Regions from separate parts of the Homo sapiens genome. Here region 1 is linked to region 2. The links are contacts of gene promoters, found by promoter capture Hi-C in blood cells and fetal thymus (Javierre and others, 2016). All regions are on one chromosome and are shown on one strand. The core of a region is centred on a gene start or on the middle of the fragment in contact, and the rest is flanking DNA. Distances in the headings are between cores, read along the strand shown. Region 1 has its middle 49 kb from the start of TLR10. Region 2 holds the start of TBC1D1 (TBC1 domain family member 1).

Region 1 (6,391 bases), core at 65-2,564, 840 kb before region 2:
CACGTGAGCAGAGCTAACACTGGACAAAAGCATTGTGGGAGTTGATATGGATTTGTTGTTGAAGCCCATTTACCTGCTAGAATCTCTTGGTGTCTGGCATGTTGGATGTGTTAACTCATAAATCTTAGGATTGCAAGTGACTCAACTTGAACTAGATTAAGCAAAGAGGGAATATATTGAGTTATATAATCAAACCATAGAAATGGCAGGGGTGGCTGGGTGCGGTGGCTCCTGCCTGTAATCCCAGCACTGTGGGAGGCTGAGGTGGGTGGGTCACTTGAGGTCAGGAGTTCGAGACCAGCCTGGCCAACATGGGAAATCCCATTTCTATTAAAAGTACAAAAATTAGCTGGACTTGGTGGTGCATACTTGTAGTCCCAGCTACTCAGGAGGCTGAGGCAGGATAATCGCTTGAACCCCAGAGGTGGAGGTTTCAGTGAACCGAGATTGCGTCACTGCACTCTAGCCTGGGCACAGAGTGAGACTCTGTCCAAAAAAAAAAAAAAAAAAAAGCAAAGGAGGAGTAGCCTAGCCTTAAAGAGCCAGGGACTTGAACACTGTCATTGCTGTCATTTCTCTCTTTCTTTCTCAGCTCTTTTCTACATGCTGCCTTCTTTCTTCTGGCTTTCTCCATTGAGGGTGCAGGCATGATGTCAGACCACTCCTCACTTCCATCCTTGCAGCCCTATAACCAGACAATTAGGAGCAAAGCGTTCTTGATTGGTTAGGGAAGCATGCCAATAGGCTCTTCTAGGATCACGTGACCTTCCCTAAACTGATCCCTGAATGCCCACCCTTAAACCTGAGTCATATGCTTACCTCTAGCTAGGGGTCTAAGAATACTAGGATTGGCATTATTGAAGCTCGAGAGGAACAGTTCCCCAAAGAAGGGGATACAATAAACAAGGCTTTAGGCATGTGTGCAGCCCAAGATAGAGCTTCAAATTTTGACTTCCTCCAAGCTTACCTACAGGGCTATTATACCCTAGTGGAGGGCTGAGCTGGGCTTTTGCTGTCCTGGAATCTCACTGCTGTCCCCAGTTGTTGGGTATGGGTTGTGGTGGAGATTGCCTATCTTCACCAAACTCATTGCCTCCTTTCTCCTGGCACAGAGCTGCACTGTATTTTGCAGGCTCTGTTGAAGTTACATCGCTGGTAAGCACTGGCCAAGTAATTGAGTTACAGCCAAAGGGTGATTAGAAGTGACGTGTGCCACCTCTACATCTGATCCACAAAACCTCCCATTCCCCCAGGCTCTTCCCTGCTGCCAGTTCGAAGCAGATGGGTGTGGCAGCTTGAAGTCACATGTGAAGTTGATGGTACCACAGGATGGAGGGAGCACAGGTTCCTGAATCTCTTCTTGGAGAAGGCCCATCTGCTCACCAGGAATCCCATTTGAGACTCTACATGAGAAATACACGTCTATTATTGGAGCAATTACAAATTTCAGAGTTTGCTACAGCAGTGAGTGTTTCTCTAACCAACAGAATTTCTTCCCTTTTTCATCAATCCTGCTTTCCCAAGTAGCCACAGGGGATACTGGAGCCAACAGAGCTGGTTTGAATCCTGACTCTGTACTTACTAGCCAGCCACTCCGCATCTTTGGGTGCAGCCTTCTTCTTTATAGAATAATCATGCCTACTTCATAAGGCCAAAGTAAGCTTTGAACACTAGAGGGAAGATGCATGCTGTCATCACAGAGTAGGTGTTGACCGTATTGTGTTTTTCAACTACCACAGGGTGACTTCATCCAAAATAACTTCCCATCTGGCTAGGGCTGCCTTGGAGAAATATCTTCTCAGCTAGGAGGTTCTTCAGTCTCAAGAGGCTTCCTGAATCAGAATGCTTTATGTCCTTGGGCTATGATAAAGTGCCATTGCTGCTGATCCATCATTCTACCAGGAGGCAAACCCCAGCAGATGGTAAATCCCCAGTTCTTGCTCTTGCTCTCTGGAGCTCCTCAGGTAGGAATAATTCCCAGTTCCAGGCTTGCAGACCTCTGACTCTTTTTTATTTATTTACTCACTTATTCATTTTTTCATTCATTCATGCATGTGTCCACCTGTCTGCTTATCCATTCATCCATGCAACAAGTATTTACAGTGTGCCAACTTCGTGCCAGGCAATGTATTGAGAACTAGAGATGCAGAAGTGAAAAGGAAAAGCTTTACTCACTCTCATCGAGCTTCCTTTATACTGAGAGGTCAGACAAGAGAGCGACAGACACTATGGTAGGAGTGAGTGCTACAGGGTGCTATGGAGGCTCAGAGAGGGCACTTAGTCTAGGGCTCGGAAGAGGCGTGCCACAAGTAGTGATGCCAAGCACAAGTTTTTCCTGGCAAAAGAATGGCAAAGCTGGTTCTACCACAACCACCAGCTACTCTTGAAATCAACTTTTTGGGATCTTCTACTAGCCTGCTGCATCATGTAGATATACCACCACCACCACCACATCTACCACCATCACCATCACCACTACCTCTACCACCACCACCACCTCTACTACCACCGCCACCACTGCCATCACCGCCACCACCACCACGATTACCAGCACCACCACCTCCACCACCATCACCACCACCTCTACCACCACCATCACCACTGCCACCACCACCATCACCACCAGCTCCACCACCACCACCAGGCCACCATCACCACCACCACCAGCACTACCATCATCACCATCACTACCACTGCCACCACCACCATCACCACTACCATCACCACTACCACCACAACTACCATGATCACCACTACCACCACCACCATCATCACCATTACCACCAGGACCATCACCACTGCCACCACCAATACCATCACCACTACCAACAACACCACCAGCACCATCACTATCACCACCACTACCACCATCACCACCTCCATTACCACCACAACCACCATGGTCACCACCACCACCATCATTATCACCATCACCACCAACACCATCACCACCACCAACACCACTACCACCACCATTGCCACCAACAACAACATCATCAACACCACCAACACCACCAACACCATCACCGCTACCACCACAACCACCAGGATCACCACTACCACCACCACCATCATCACCATCACCACCAGGACCATCACCACTACCACCATCAACACCATCACCACCACCACCATCAACACCATCACCACCACGACCAGCACCATCACTATCACCACCACTGCCACCATCACCACCTCCACTACCACCAAAACCACCACGATGACCACCACCACCATCATCACCATCACCACCAACACCATCACCATCACCATCACCAACACCAACACCAACACCAACACCACCACCACCACCATCACCACCACCACCATCACCACCTCTGCTACCAACACAACCACAATGATCGCCACCTCCACCACCATCATCGCCATCACCACCAACACCATCACTACCACTAACACCACCACCACCAACACTACCACCACCAACACTACCACCATCACCACCTCCACTACCACCCCAACAACCATGATCATCACCACCACCACCATCACCACCACCGCCACCACTGCCTCCACCACCATCACCACTACCACCAGTACCACCACCATCACCACTAACACCACAGCCTCCACCACCATCACCACCAACACCACCATCCCACCATTACCACCACCATCATCACCACCACCATCACCATCACCACCACCATCACCATCATCAACACCACTACCACCACCACCACCATCACCTCCCTTTCTGAGCTGTGCCCTGCTGAACTTCCAAATTTCTTGAGAATATCGTCCCCTGGGGAACCCTATGGCTATTTTTACTTCTTCCATGTGTGCCTTCCTCCCCACAACCACCAGTGTTCCACTCAAAGGGGCATAAACATCTATAAGGCATTCTGTATGTATGTGTTTATATAGTCTTTTTTTTTTTTTGACAGAGTCTTGTTCTGTCATTCAGTCTGGAGTGCAGTGGTGCAATCTTGGCTCACTGCAACCTCTGCTTCCCAGGTTCAAGCAATTCTTGTGCCTCAGCCTCCCAAATAGCTGAGACTCCAAGTGCCCGCCACCATATACGGCTAATTTTTTTGTGTTTTTAGTAGAGATGGGGTTTCCCCATGTTGGCCAGGCTGGTCTCAAGCTCCTGATCTCAAGTGATCCGCCTGCGTCAGCCTCCCAAAGTGCTGAGATTACAGATGTGAGCCACCAATCTGGCCTATATAGTCTTAAACATGCTCACAATATATATGTTTATGTATCTTTGTAAGCATATGCCTAATGCCTAAAATGGAATATGGATGTATACATGTTTGCACAAATACACATATGTGTGTATATACATAAGGCATATGCATACACGTGAAGAGACATATATATAATCTTCAAATTTTCAAGAAAACAAATTGTTAAATTGAGGGTACTACCTCAGAAACCAAACTTTATTAAATTTTCCCAAAAGCAGAAATAAAAGGCAGTCTATAGATTATTTTGCTATCAGAGACAACCAACAAGCCCAACAACTTTGGAAGTGCCTGGCTGATATGAAAGTTATTCTTTTTTCTTTTTCTTTTTAATTAAAAATTAATTAATTAATTAATTAATTAATTAATTAGAGACAGTGTTTCACTCTGTTGCCCAAGCTGCAGTGCAGTGGTGCAATCACAGCTCACTGTAGCTGCAAACTCATGGGTTCAAATGATCTTCATACCTCAGCCTCTCAAGTAGCGGGGACCACAGGCATGTGTCAATTTTTAAATTTTTTTGTAGAGGGGGAGTCTTGCTAGGTTGCCTAGGCTGGTCTCAAACTTCTGGCCTCAAGTGATCTCCCACCTTAGCTTCCCAAAGTGCCAGGATTACGGGCATGGCCACTGTGCTTGGCTTACCTTTTTTCTTTGAAGAAGATGTTTTTATTGGAATAGAGTTAGCAGTTTCTTCCCTCCTCTTAGTATCTAGAATAATGAGCCTAGTGCGGTGGCTCATGCCTGTAATCCTGGCTCTGGGATTGTTAGAATTTCTGATGCCCGTGAAAGTGACCCTTAGGGTTGAGAGAGAGGAGAAAAGCTTTCTCTTAGATTTTATTAATAACCAAGAGAATTATGATGATGATATTAATAATAGCAATAATTAATATATAATTAACACATAACACTCCCTATGTGCCAGGCACCATTCTAAGTGTTTTGACATTTGCTTTGTTTGTGCCTCAGTGTTTGAGATGTTATCTCGTTTATGTCTCATAAGTACTCTCTGAGGTAGGCTCTAATATGATCATCCCAACTTTACAGATGAGGAAGGTGAGGCACAGAGAGGTTTAATGACCTGCCAAAAGTTACAGAGCAGTTGCAGAAGCAGGATTCGAACCCCGGCAATCTGGCTCTAGATTGCCACATTACCCTTAGCAGTCCTGCTCTCACGCAAGGCCGCCCTGGAAGGACAGGAAGAAGAACCCTCTGAGCCGCGAGAAGGTGCTCCGAGAACCCTCAAGAGGACCCCGGCCCTGAACTAGAAGCTCCGCGTGCCTGGGCCTCCCTCTCCAGCAGGGGGCGCACACAGCCCGCATTTTCTGGACTCCTCTAACCACAGATACCTCGGCTTATTGAGAACTGGAACTCCTGACCTTTTGTGGGAAAGGCTCTGATCTCAAAACTTTCTCTAGCATTCTTGAAGTATTTACAGTGTACTAATCAAAGGAATGATCCGGTACATGGACATAACCAAGGGAATGATTCAGGACCGTTCTTGGAGGACCTACAATGTGTATCAATAAGCAGAAACCCAGGAAGCCTGTATAGGCCCCAAGCTTATAACAGCGCTGCCTGATTCCAGATGAACCACAAACACTCCAAGCCGGGGTTTTTCTCACCACACCCGAAGACATTCTATTAAAATAGCCCTGTTCGTGGGTGGCCTCCCATGCATGAGTCCTCTCACATGGTCTGCGTGCTGATGGGGCTGTGCTGAACTCACCGCATTGGCCTATGGAACACGTGCTGAGGTGTTTTCTCTCTAGTGACCTTTGTCACATCCTTTGCAAGAAATTAGCTCAGAGGAGCAATCCCTGAAGGCCAAACCTCAACCTGCACCAGAGGCAGACAGGAGACGAGGTTTGGTAGAATTTGTACCTCTCATGGTGGTGGGAGGAGGAGAATGGCTCTGTGAAGCGCTCCTTCCACCCTTTTAATGCTGTGCAATAAAGACTGAGTTAGGGGCTCAGGCCTGTAATCCCAGCATTTTGGGAAGTCAAAGTGGGTGGACTGCTTGAGCCCAGGAGTTCCACACCAGCCTGGGCTACATGGCAAAACCCTGTCACTACAAAAAATACAAAAATTAGCCAAGCACGGTGGCGTGTACCTGTAGTCTCAGCTACTCAGGAGGCTGAGGTGGGAGGATCCCTTGAGTCTGGGAGGTGGAGGCTGCCGTGAGC
Region 2 (6,000 bases), core at 3,098-5,597:
AAATTAGAGCCAACTCAAGGCTAGTCCTTTAGAATGGCACTGTCACTTCTTATACTCTTCATTGCACAGGAAAAAGGGTGGGAAATGGGCGAGTGTCCTAGCTGGCCCTCAGAGATTATGTATAACCCTCCTACCTGCAGTGTTCCTTTAAGTTATTCTGCTAAAAGTAAAAAGAATAGTTACCAACACATTATCATAGTGTGTTTATTAACTGATTTAACTTACAAAACGTTGGACAATAAAGGAATATTATCATTGAATAGTGGCACAGAAAAGTGAGGTCACCTGCCCAAGGCCATACTATAAGAAGTGGCAGAATCGGGATTTGAACCCAGGCCCTTTGGCTCCAGAGTTTGCTTGCTCTTAACCACTTTGCTAGAGCAATATCTGTTGACCACCTACCACTTCATGGACATTTTACATTCATGATCTTCTGTACGTTCACAAAGCTGAGAAGTAGGTTTTGTCATGCTCATTTTACCAAAGGGTTCCCTCACTAATAAATTGTGAAGGTGGCATTTGAATCTATATCTGTCTTATCTACAAACTTCTGTTGTTTCTCACAGATGATATCCAAAGATCCCATAGATCTTTAGATGGGAATAACCCTCAAATATCTTTCTAGTGGATTAGCTGGGTTGGTCTATCTAAATTTTGCTTGGCCTCAGCAATCCAAACCTAACATCAAAATTATACTCTAAAAGTATAAAATAAATAAACATAATAATAGCAATAAATAATATTGAGTGCTCACTGTGTACCAGGCACTGTTCTAAGCACTTTGCATGTATAAATTCACTAATTCTGGCAACAAACCTATAGGGCTTACCTAATTCAGAGGTTTAGATTTGCTGATTATATAAAATGTGCTGATAAATACACGCATTGTCTTTTGAAGAGAAAAATAGCTGTTGCTCATCTCAAAGGAGACAGGCACACTCAAAATTAAATGCCTCTTTGTTGGTTCTAAAATGTATTTCCTACATTCTGCACAGCTTCATAAAAACCTACATATCAAGAGTTTTTCAGTTGGCCCAAATATGACACATCTTTTTCTAAACATCTGAAATCTGAAAAGGGACACATTGCCCCTGCATCTAAGACCTCATCAAATGGAACTTTTGGCTTAGAAATGTCAAAAACTGGTCGGGCGCCGTGGCTCACACCTGTAATCCCAGCACTTTGGGAGGCCAAGGCGGGTGGATCACAAGGTCGGGAGTTCAAGACCAGCCTGGCCAAGATGGTGAAACCTCGCCTCTACTAAAAACACAAAATTTAGCCGGCCGTGGTAGAGCACGCCTGTAGTCCCAGCTACTTGGGAGGCTGAGGCAGGAGAATCACTTGAACCCAGGAGGCGGAGGTTGCAGTGAGCTGAGATCACGCCACTGCACTCCAGCCTGGGTGACACAGCAAGACTCCTTTCAAAAAAAAAAAAAAAAGTCAAAAACCTTGAAGCATGAAAACCTTCATGTCTTTCGTGAAGAATCTGGTCTAAAGATATTTTTTATTGGAATGTGGTGTTGGAAAGGAAGAAAAGTCAGTGAAGGAAATTGTAAGGTAACAGTTCTGACTGAAAACCTAAATCCTTCGTCATCACTACAGGGATACAAACCCCAACACTACTCTGCTGCTGAATGGACTCAGTGGCACGATCATGTTTCACTGCAACCTCCGCCTCCTGGCTTCAAGCGATTCTCCTGTCTCAGCCTCCCAAATAGCTGGGACTACAGGCACATGCCACCATGCCTGGCTAGTTTTTGTAGATCTATATTTTTGTAGAGACAGGGTTTTGCCATGCTGGCCAGGCTGGTCTCGAACTCCTGACCTCAAGTGATCCACCCGCCTTGGACTCCCAAAGTGCTGGGATTACAGGCATGAGCCACCATGCCTGGCCATGGACTCAGTCATTTTAATGAGCAGATTTTACTTCTCAAGTTTAATGACCAAGAGATGAAAACTGCTGAGAAATATATAAAATATTGAAACTAACGTGGTCATTAAACTTGAGAAGGGCAGCACGGTAGACTGGAAAAGGGCAAAACAAATGATCCTGAGGCACCCACACATATACAGGAAGTCCCCAAATGGGCCGTGATACATTTTCAGTCCTCTGGGAATCTGAAAAGAGCAAAAACTGGGGACCTACAGAGAAATGCTGTGGAGAGAGTAGGAAGGACTTCAGGGAGCTGCCATTCTGTCAGATCAAATTAAAAGCATGTTCAAAGACAGAATCCTCTTGAGCCCCTTGCTCTCCTCCCTACCATCTACTCTAGAAAGCTGGTGGCCAACAGAGCAGGCAGCTGTGGTGCCTGCTCCAGGCACCAAGACAACTGAAGATGCTGCTGTGAACACAGAAGAGGTAACAGCCATGCTGCTTGATTCAGGCTCCCCACTGCTTGCCAGGGTTACATCCTAGAAGATCCTAGAAGATCTGGACCACAAAAAAGCCACCCGCCCACATCTGGCTCTGCATAGGGGTACATCTCATTGTCATTGCAGCCTTCCTGGTCAAAGCTGTCTTCTAGGGAAGTGGGGGACAGGGATTATCACCAGCTGGATAATGAGGAAGAAGGGGCAAGCTCTGTTGCTTCAGAGTTGCACGTTTCCTCCTAATACCCACTAGTGTTTTGACAAACTGTGCCTTATGGGACACCAGGTCAACACTGCATGACTGCCACCCAACCAGAAATGCTGTCGTGGTGAAAAGGGGAAGCCCCAGCACTCTCAGTGGGGTAGATAACAATAGACTATGACAAGGAGACGCATTTGCAAAATTTTCCTTTGAAAACGTAATGTAATAATTTATAACTACACTAGTGATTTTTTTTCCTATTCTCCTGGTTTGCAAATGGCTGGACAAATCCACAGGAAAGAAATTATTTTAATTATCACCTGATGATTTTATTTCCTGCTTTGAACCACTTAGTCCCTTCCAGGTCTCCTTGCACTCAATAGTGTTAGAATGCTCTACTTGTGTTCACTTCAGAAAATGTCCCCTAAACTCTTTTTTTTTAAGAGATGGGATCTCACTTTGTCACCCAGGCTCCAGTGAGGTGGCACAGTCATAGCTCACTATGGCCTCGAACTCCTGGGCTCAAGTGATCCTCCTGCCTCAGCCTCCCAAGTAGCTGGGACTACAGGTGGGTGCCACCACCCCTAGCTCATTGAAAAAGTTTAGAAGTTTGAACTTGTACAGATAGCTGAGTTTCTTGGGTGTGACCTATTTAAACCAGGTCATTTTTAAATGCTCTTTCAAAGTCTGATTTTATTAATAAATGAAATCATCCCATCATAAGGGAAACAATGAGAAATCTATGAAGGGAAAACATATCCATTAATATGAGGCACCCTGAAAATTAAACTGTTTGGTGGAAGGAACAACCATCACTTTCAATTTCTTTTTAAAGCAACTTCCAGAGAATAAGCTATGTTAAGTAAAATCAAAACAGGAAAAGCCACATCTAGGTGGATTTCAAACGAAATGATACCTCTCTGAAAAAAAAGCAAAAACAAAACCTTAATGCCTGGTGAAGTTTGAGGGGGGTCTCATAATCACAGAGCCATCAGGAAGCGGCTAGAAACAATGAAGCAGGGTTTCAAAATGACTGGTACAGGATGTACCCATAGAAAGAAATGTTGCGCGCACTGGTGGAGCTGCCAAAGTTACTACTGCAAAGTACCCTGAACTTTTAAAGCGTGGCTTGGGGTCACTCTGACCACACTCTTTCCAATCTGGTCGCCTTGCAAACACGCTAGGATAATTGGCGGGAGGGGGGAGGGGAGAGATGCGCGGACCAGTGAGCTGGCGGGGGTTGGGGGAGAAGCCGGCGGAGCTCTCGGGTCGCTAGCAACATTAAGGTTTCGCTTTCGTCCAAGGGCGGCGGGGGTGGGGGGGTAAGGGGGGCAACGAGATGGCAATGAACTTCCTCCCCCGAGAGACCCTGGCCTCGCGTCCGTGGGCGGCCAGATGCCTTCCCCTCCGCGGCCAGGCGGGGCAGGGGCGTGCTGCGGGAGGGGGCGGCCGCGACGCCCCGAGAGGAGCCAGCAGGGTGGCCAGGACGAAGCCCCAGGAAGCGCCTTACCTGTGCCGCGGCGCGCTCAGAGCCCGGGGCCGGGCCGGGACGCGCAGGTGCTTGGGGGCATCCTGGGGACGGCCTGGGCGGGCGGGGAGTCCATCGCACCCGGCTGGCTGCGCTCTTCCCGCCGCGGGGGGACGGGGAGGGGGCTCCCCTCGGCTCGGCGCCCGCCTCTTCTCCACCCAGCTGAGGACACAGCAGGTCCCGCGGCGGCGGCAGCAACAGGCACCGGCGGACGGTGGCGGCACCAGGAGCAGCAGCCGAAGAGGAGGAGGAGGAGGAGGAGGAAGAAGAGGAGGAGAAGGAGGAGGTGTCTGCGCGCGGCTCTGGTTTCCTCCTCCCAGCCTGGGCGAGCGCGCTGGAGGCGAGGGGAAGACAGGAGCCGGGATCTCCCCACTCGGTCCCCGGGGAGCTGGGAGGGGGACTCGGTGTCCTCCTCCTCCCCACTGCGCCGTGTGACTGTGCCTGGGCAGCACGGCCCGGACGGGCGAGTCACACGCGAGCAACAGCTGCTGCACTGCGGGTCCGCCGCGGCCTCCCTCCCCTCCTTGCCACCCCCCGCCCCCAAGCCCGCGGGCCATCCTCAGCCAGTGTCTGTGGGGGGAATAGGGGGGAAGTACTCGGGCCGCCGCCCCATCCAGACCCCTGCGCAGGATCTGGGCACAGCGTTTCCCTGGGGAGCCGGGGGCGCGGGGCCCCGCGCGTGATGCAGGCCCTCGTGGCGGGATGTACAGTCGCACACCCTGTCCTTGGCGGCCTATTTATAGCAGGTGGCACTGCCCGCCGCTTGCTCGGCCTGAGTGGCTCTCAGCAGGTGGCACTGCCTGCCCGCTCTCCGCGCTCCCGAAGGCGCCTCGCCTCATCTGCACCCTCCTCTTCTCCCTCCGAAACAGACGTGGTGGAAACTGCACACAACATGGGGGGCGGGGGCCGGGGGCGACCAAGCCACCTTGCTCTCCCCCGCCTTACCCCTTCTCCCCGTCCTTGGAGGATGGCAAGAGGTGAACTGAGGCACGGATGCCCTATGGGGCGCTGGCATGCGAGGCAGGAAAATCAGGGACTCTGGGAAACAACGAAGGCGAAGTGCCCTCCCGGGATTAAACACCAGGAAACTCCATTTCTAACCAATTGCGGGAGTGACGCAGAGCCTGGATTAGGCGCTTTTTCCTGCCCCGCGAGCCCGGCACACGCGCAGGAACACACACCACACGCACACGCACACCCCAGTGTGCATGCCCCGATCAGGTCTGGGGACATTCCCAGCGGTGATGTAGAGTGCAAGGAAAGACGCGGAGATGTGAAAAGCGGGACAGAGCTCGCTCCCTAAGACTAGGGGATGGCAGTGTGCAAAAAACAGGCGAAGCTCCCAGATCCCTATCCCACCAGGCACAGAGGCGCAACGTCACTCGCAGGGTGGGGAGAGGGATCTGAGAAAAGTAAGAAGCATCACATCCTCTCCAGAGAAGAGTCCGCAGGGAGGGGAGAGCCGGGTGCTCGGAGGAGGCAGTTCCAGACCCCCAGGTGGCATCTTTCTGGATTTTTTTACTTAATGTAGCTGGGGGTGGACTTTAGGGAAGTGGCTGAGCGTTTGAGCTGTACGGTTGGACTTGAATCCAAATCCCAGCAGGTGTGGTTTAGGCAAGGTGCTGGACCTCTGGTCTTCATTGTCTTACCTGCTAAATGGGACCAATACACACCTTACAGGATCTTTGTGAGGACAAAGCAGGAAAGTGTAAGTAAAGTGGCCAGTGCAGTGACACAGACGTACATGGTCCTCAACTAAAAGCAGCAGCTATTATCAATATTACTGTGGCCCAGGAGGCAAATAGAGGGCCAGGTTTCCTCATCGTACCAAGAGCAGTGTCTTCCTTGAAGCCCACTGAGCTTCTTGTAGGCTTTTAGATTAGGGCTGTCTTATGGCATT

The links. Contacts are between HindIII fragments. The CHiCAGO score rates a contact against its expected background, and 5 or more counts as called.
Region 1: a fragment that was not itself captured here is called in contact with the fragment with the promoter of TBC1D1 in region 2 in 1 of 17 cell types (M2 macrophages); the score reaches 5.8 in M2 macrophages.

Annotation. Positions count from the first base shown.
Region 1 is chr4:38,730,428-38,736,818 of GRCh38, reverse strand. No RefSeq gene overlaps it. Among named protein-coding and RNA genes, the nearest start is that of TLR10, 49 kb to the left of the region's middle. RefSeq lists an enhancer at 5,604-5,973. The HindIII fragment of the contact is 699 bases long and covers 965-1,663 here.
Region 2 is chr4:37,889,431-37,895,430 of GRCh38, reverse strand. It overlaps TBC1D1 (TBC1 domain family member 1), which reads right to left and starts at 4,347. Exons shown (of 22, transcript NM_001396959.1): 1 at 4,083-4,347. RefSeq lists enhancers at 2,200-2,479, 2,910-3,039 and silencers at 2,740-2,789, 3,819-4,318, 4,639-4,828. The HindIII fragment of the contact is 15,185 bases long and covers 1-6,000 here.